2 separate regions of the Homo sapiens genome follow, and region 2 is linked to region 1. Evidence: promoter capture Hi-C in human tissues and cell types (Jung and others, 2019). All regions are on one chromosome and are shown on one strand. The core of a region is centred on a gene start or on the middle of the fragment in contact, and the rest is flanking DNA. Distances in the headings are between cores, read along the strand shown.

What was found. The method cuts DNA at HindIII sites, captures the fragments that hold promoters and counts their contacts. A contact is called where the count stands out against the background at its distance.
Region 2: a fragment that was not itself captured here is called in contact with the fragment with the promoter of CDH22 in region 1 in 1 of the 25 tissues and cell types used here (liver).

The regions. Positions count from the first base shown.
Region 1 is chr20:46,306,232-46,309,753 of GRCh38, reverse strand. CDH22 (cadherin 22) reads left to right here and starts at 1,256. Exons shown (of 12, transcript NM_021248.3): 1 at 1,256-1,499. The HindIII fragment of the contact is 29,361 bases long and covers 1-3,522 here.
Region 2 is chr20:46,264,066-46,267,537 of GRCh38, reverse strand. The region is part of intron 1 of CDH22 (cadherin 22); the gene reads left to right. Among named protein-coding and RNA genes, the nearest start is that of CDH22, 43 kb to the left of the region's middle. The HindIII fragment of the contact is 4,356 bases long and covers 1-3,472 here.

The DNA of each region.
Region 1 (3,522 bases), core at 7-2,506:
ATTGGGGAAGGAGGCGAGGAGGAGAGAAGGATAGGGGCGAGGTAGAGCTGGGGGTCCTGGAGGGCCCTGCCCCCTCTTTGCCATGAACTTCAGCAGCTGCTTGTGGGTGATTAAATGGCTGGTCATTGGCAGCTTGGCGGGACAGAGGTCTGCAGCTGTCCAGTCTCCTGTTATCCTTCACTCACCTATCTGGAAGCCATGGGGAATAGGGGGGCGGGCAACTCCTAAGGGGACCTACAACCCAAGACAAAGGGTGGGTCTATGGGAGTCACTGGTCCTATCCTACCATCAACGACCTCATATTGGGAACTCAGGAGTGGGGTGGGAGGGTCTCCTCCATTAGGCCTCATCCCAGAGAGATGAAGTAGTAAGGAGAGCCAGGCAGCCAGGAGAAAGAAACAGGGCCAGGTGGAAAAAACATCAGGGAGCAGACCAGCCGGATTTTTAAAAGAACGGAAAACCCAACCAGCAAGGAGTTTCTGGGCAGTGGGAAGATTTTATTGGGAGACTTCTCCAGGTCAAGGTGGCACCAAGTTAAGGATGGAGGTGTCTTGTTTTGCCTGCTTACTTTGTTGGTTGCAAGGATGTCCAGCGGGACTCTCCAGAGGAAAAGCCCACAAGTTTCTCTCCCGGGGACACCCGACCTCCCACCTGCCTGGAGACTCAGCCCTGGGCACCTGGTCGGTGTCCACCTCAATGCACAGTGACTGTTTCTGAACTGGCAGATCTGGTCTGTGCAAGGTGCCTTTCTGGGCAGCAAGCCGGGGCGGCCACTGTTCGAGAAGCCTGCTCCTACCCTGGCCTGCGCCCCTGCTCCTCTGAAGGCGGCCTCCCGCAGTAGTCAGGGGGCGGAAATGGGAAGCCCTATTCGCAGTAAAATCAGGTGGGGAAATAGGCTCTGGTCTCAAACTGCGGCCACCTGGGGAGCTGCCAGGCGAGGAGGTAGATGGTCCCCCTCCTGGGGGCGCTCCCTTCGCGCGGATCTGGGGTTGGAGGAGGGAGGGGCACTGTCCCCTGGGGGGTTTCCTGGGACTGGGCCGCCCGAGAGAGGGAAAGGCTGTCCCCTCCTGGTGTAGGAGGGGCGCGATCCGGGGGGCGGGGGCTGGGGTTCCCCGGCTGCGGGGGTCCGGGCCGGCGGCCGCCTGCGGCTTGGCGCTGCGCGGCTCCTGCCCGGCGGGCCCTGCATTCTCCGAGTCTCCACCAGAGGCTGCGGGAGGAAGGAAGGGATCCGTCCCTTGCACACTTCCCCCCAGTCAGACACGCACACTCCCTCGCTCCCGCTCGCTCGCTCACTCCCTCGCTCTCTCGCTCTCTCGCTCTCTCGCTCACACACACGCGCGCACACGCCGCCGCGGCTCCCCCTCTCGCTCCCGCTCTCCCTCCGGCTCCTGCGGGCGGCCGCGGGGCTCCGGACTCGCCCGCTGCCCGCGCCGGGGCTCCCGCCCCACGCAGCGTCCCGAGGCGGCAGGACTAGGGGGAGCCCCGGGCCGCTCCCCGAGGTAAGAGCGCGGGGTGCCGCGGGAGGAGCGGCCGGATCGCCGCCGAGGGGAGGCTGCCCGGCAGGGAGGGAGCCCCCTGGCCGGCGGGAGCGGCCGGGCAGGCGGCGCGGGGGGCGAGCCTCCAGCCGCAGGAGGAGCCGGGGTGCCTGCGCCCGGCCCTGCGCGCCCCCTCCTCTCGGCCGGGAGGGCGGGGAGGGAGTTTCCCACGTCCAAACTTTCCCCGGCGCGGAGCCGAGCCGCCTCTCGGCCCGAAGCCCGCAGCTCCCACCCGTCCCCACAACCTCGTCCGCCGCGCGCCCGGGAGCCTCCGGGACCCCCGCGGGCCGAGGGGTGGCAGCGCCAGGGGCCGAGCCGGCGCGCCAAAAGGGGCTGGGAAGGTGGCGCACAGCCCTGACGCGAGGGCTGGGACCCAGGCGTTCCCGGTCCCCCAACCCTGCTAGCGGGGCTCGGCTCCCCGGCCCCTCCCAGAGGCGGGGTCCGGGGCCGGGAAAATACCGCACGGCGCGAGCGTGTGCGCGCGGTGTGTGTGTGCGAGGTCGTGCCGCGTCCGGGGACACCCGGAGGCTGACTCCAGCCGCGGCGACACGCACGGTTCTGGTCCCCTCTGAGCCGGGGAGGCGGCCCACAGGGACCCCTGCCGGCCCCACCGGCGCGACCCCCCCTGCCCTATGGCCGTCGGGCGGGCTGGCGGTGAGCGAGAGCCAGCGCTGCTCTCTTCCTTAGGACCCGACTCCGGAGACACCGTCCCCGCTGGGGAAGAAGGACGGGGCCCCCGACAGCCTAACGTCCAAAGAGAGCGCCACTTAGGGCTAACCCTCGGGGGCCGCGGCGTTTACTGTGAAGAGTGGACTGCGTGGGCGCGCGGGGTGCCGGGCAGCCCTGGGTGGGCACAGTGTGGACCCGTCTCGCTCGCGCCTCCCCGCTGCCTCTTCTCTGGCAACGTCGGGCCCTGTCCCAGGCGGGGCTGCAGAGGGTAGGGCTGATCCAGGATCCCCCGAGGTCTCCCCGAGGTGCAGGGCACCCCCTTGTGGCGGGCAGAGAAGCTGCTGTTTGAAGCTGCTCAGGTCTTCCGAGGTGCTCGCTCCTTGGAACCTCTTCTCTCCAAACCCTTCGGGCGTCGCCAGGGTTGCGCATGCCAGCTTCTTTTTCCGTGGGGCTGATTCCAGCACTCCCCAGGTTTCTGGGGCTGGCCGAGGTGCCCCCAGCACAGGCAGCGGCTCATTTGAGGGCTTTGGCTGTTGCCAGCTCTCTCTCCCTCTCCACCCAGGTTCAGGATCTCATCCTCTTCTCCCACTGGTCAGCGCCAATACCCTATATCAGCATCACCACTGCCCTAGGGCCCAAAGGCTCCTCCCTAACCACCGCGACTCTCTGTCCTTCATTTGTATCCCGTATATGTGTCCATCAGTGCCCACTCCGTCCCCCTCAGTTGCCCCTAGTCTACAGCCCTTGTTGAAACTTGGCCTCTACACCCATAGTGACATCCTTTGGTCTTTGCCCACCAATGACCATTTCCTCGTCCCCCCCAACCCCGACCCATCTTCTATCCTGTCTGCCTCAGTTTTTCTGTAGCACTCAACTGTTCCCTGCCCCAGCCATTTCTCTACTTCACCCTTATTTCCCTCCTTGTCCCAGTGTCTGGGACACTCCTCTTCCATTCCTCCTGGAAGGGAAGGGCATTGCCAACATTTAAACACTGCTTCCTGGAGATGTCTGTGTGCCCTTCCCGGTCCACCACTGCCAGTGCCTCGGGGGCAGGTACTTTATAAAGCCAGCCAGGTCTCTCTCAGCTAAGGGGCACCTGTACCTCTTGGGTGGCCCCATCAGGGGACCCCTGGAGACAACCCCTTTCCCTATTCCTAACTGTGAGCAGCACATTGGAGACCACCTGGGCTGCCCTCTTTTCCATTTTCAAGGATTGGCAACAGCAGCCCGAGGTCACATGGTAAGCTATACCCAGAGCCGGAATAGGAACCCAGGCATCTTGACATCCAGGCCTCACCAACGCTGCTTATGTGTTGGG
Region 2 (3,472 bases), core at 838-3,337, 43 kb after region 1:
TTGGAGTTGGCCCCTAGCCATGTGGTTCTCAGCAAGCCACCTCTCTTCTTGACACTTTTCTTTGTTCATTGGTAACTGGAGAGACTAAAGCCCATCTCAGGAGGATGGTGTGACAATTGCCTAAAATAAGAGCAATAAGAGCTCACACTGGTTGTGTGTGGGAATGAGCCCTTCACACATACCTTGTTGAATCACTGTGAAAACATGTAGCAGTTGGCTCGGGGCTGGGCACACAGTTAGTGTACCATGCTTGATCTCTGTTCCACAACTTGTGGACCACCTGCTCCAGAGGCTCTCAGGCCAACATCAGAATCTGCTAGAAGCTATCCCAGACTGAGGACAGGCTCTGGCACCAGACTTTCCTAGTTCAAGTCCTGGCTTCTCCCACTTCCTGGCTGTAATCTTGGACAAGTGACTTCACCTCTCGGTGCTCCAGTTTCTTTATCTGTAATATAACAATTATAATAAAACAGATGTGGCACAGATGAAGCAAGATAACCTATGGAGTGTGCTTAGCAGAGTGGTCAAAAAGTACAGCCTCTTCTTTTTGCTCATCAAAGGCACAGTCTCTGGCACATAGAAAGCACCCTATTAGAACATGTGGAAAAAGGCAAAAAAAAAAAAAAGCACCCTATAGACCTTCCTGTTAGTACTATTATCATCCTTACTGAATCTGGGGCTCCAGAGGCCTGGCAATGAGATTTTGAACAAGCCTCACCTTGCTATACACCGGCATGACCCTGTCCTCTGATGAGCCCTGAGAACTGCAGTTTGACCTTCCATTGTATAGAAGTCCAGGGCAGGGACTTGCCCAAGGTCACCCAGTGTTATGGGATCAAAGCCAAGCTCCAACCTACTCCACTTGCCGTCCAGCCTAGAGAGCTTTCTCCCGTACCACAAAGGGACAGATTCTTTAATGTCATCTGCTCAGGTTACAATAAAAATTAACTATCCCGAATATGTGCATCATCAAAGCAGCTCCAAGACAGAGAAGGGGCTAAGGGAGACTGGAATGAAATGTGTCACACATGCTCCTGGGGTCTCCAAACCTGCTCTGTAATGGCTCCTAGGAGGCCCCAGACACACACCAGCCTGCAGGTCCTTCTCTGCCTTGGTGAGACACAATGCTAGGCACAGGACGGGTGCTCCACAAGACCTTCAATGAGCAGAGCTGAGGCTGAGGCTTGGCCCCTGAATGACCCAGGTCCCAGTCCTCTCTCCCTGCACAGCTGTGCATCCTACGGACAGCCATAAGGCCACCTGGGGCCACCTCAGTTCCCACCCCAGCCCAGAGTAGGTGAGAGTGGGAAGAGAGGCCTTCTCCCCAAGGCTGCTACAGTAGAGACAGGATGTGTGAGGACAAAGGACCCTGCTGTACCATTCCCCCAGTCTCTGCCCCAGGAATCCTCTAAAACAGATAAACTTTAATAGACTCAGGTCCACAGAGAGCCTCCCTCTGGCTGGAGCCACATACCCAAAATCTGGGTAGGGAGAGAGAGAGAGAGAGACCCAGAGGGGGCATCTGGGCCCCCAGTAGTTCAGTAGGATGGAGGAGCTGGGATCAATGTGTGTGTGTGTGTGTGTGTGTGTGTATCTGTGTGAATGTGTGCACAGCTCCCAGATGTAGCAGACAAAACAATAGAACAACAGGGGGCAGGCAACCAGGAGGTGGAACAGGAAGAGAAGTAGGAAGAAGAAGAGAAGAAGGTGGAAGGGAAGGAAAAGTGGGAGAAAAGGGGAAAGAAGAAGAAAAAGGAGAATGGATGAATGGATTTCTAAGTCACGGTATATTCATGCAATGGAGTACTATGCAGCAGTGAAAAGGAACACATGCAAGAACAAAGACGAATCTCACAAACATAATGCTGAGAAAAAGAAGCAAGATGCAAAAGACCATTCAGTATGATATACAAGCTCAAAAACAAGCAAGACTAAACTAAGATGGTCAGAAATGCATAGTTGGGAGACAAACAATAAGGAAATGCAAGGAACTAGTCATAAAAGCCAGGACAGAAGGAACCAATGGGTTATGTTCAAGAATGGGACACACAGTAGGAGCTTCTGAGGAGGGGGCTATTTTCAGTATTTTGCTCAAAGTGTGGATTCATGGGTTCATTTTATGACTTTTCGTTAAACTATGCATGTATGATTTGTGCAGCTTTCATTATCAAGGCTGAATTGTACAATTTTAATTAATTATGAAAAGTAGAGAAAGAGGAGGAGGAAGAGGGGAAAAGAGCAAGGAGGAGGCGGTTTGGAGGGAGAAGGGCCTCCTGGGACTCTGCTTGGCTGGCACCATGGCAGGGCCCTGCCCCCATCCGGACGCGTTTGTAAAATGGAATAAATATTGACACGGCCAGGATGGTATTCAATTTGTCCTGATCACTGGGCTGCAGTGAGTTCTGACAGGGCGCGGTGTAAAACAGCAGCTCGGGATGTAATTTCTACTGTCAACATGATGTACAGCACGGCTCTGCCGGTGGCACCGGCACACGGGCAGGGTGGGGGCAGGGCAGGGAGACAGGTGCAGGCCAGGGGCACCTGAGGTGGAGGGTTCTAACAGGTTGCCCCTGGGCAGGTGAGCAGTGCTAGCCAAGGAGTCTGCATGTGTACACGGTATGTGTGTGTGCGCACGGTGTGTGTGCGCGCACGGTGTGTGTGTGTGCGCACGGTGTGTGTGTGTGCACGGTGTGTGTGTGTGCATGGTGTGTGTGTGTGTGTGCATACTCATACATGTTCATAATTTGCACGGGAGGTCAGGCCTTAAGGAGGGACTCAGGCCTGGGTTAAGTCACGTCAAGTAGCGTGGGGGAAGGACATGGTTCATGCTGAGAGCCAAACGCAGGCCTGTCCTTTCCAGCAGCCACTGAGCACCTCCCGGCCCATCCTCATTTCCCTCCCACTGCCAGAGCCTGTTTGAATTCCAGATCCTCCACTAACTAGCTGTGTGACCTTGGGCAAGTCCCTCAACCTCTCTGAGCCACTGTTCCTGATTCTGTAATAGAAATTTTAAAGACAGCTATTGTGAGGATTCAATCAGATCATTGATATAAAGTGCCCTGCATGGAACTCAGTGTTACCTCTTATTATTAGCTAATTGGATGGCACCATGCCTGGCACATAGTAAAAGCGCTATAAATGTTATCTATCATTATTCTCACTGACTCAGAATCAGCTCAAGGTATGCAACTGGCCTCTCTTTCTTCCTTCCCTGTGCCTGTGATCTGCCAAGGTTGTTCCCCAAAGGAACAAAGCTTGGGACACATTCCACTGTGTCCCTTTGCCTAGCCTTCTCATTGGAGTGAAGTGAGATTGTGAAGGGGATAATGATAACTTACTTTATGGGGTTATTGTGAGGAATAAATAAGCTAATGCACATAAAGTGCTAGAACAGTGCCTGGCTCTTAGTAGGTGATCAAAAAACGTCAGCTAAAACAAAAATAAAATCCGGGGAGTCACTCTTGATGTCTCT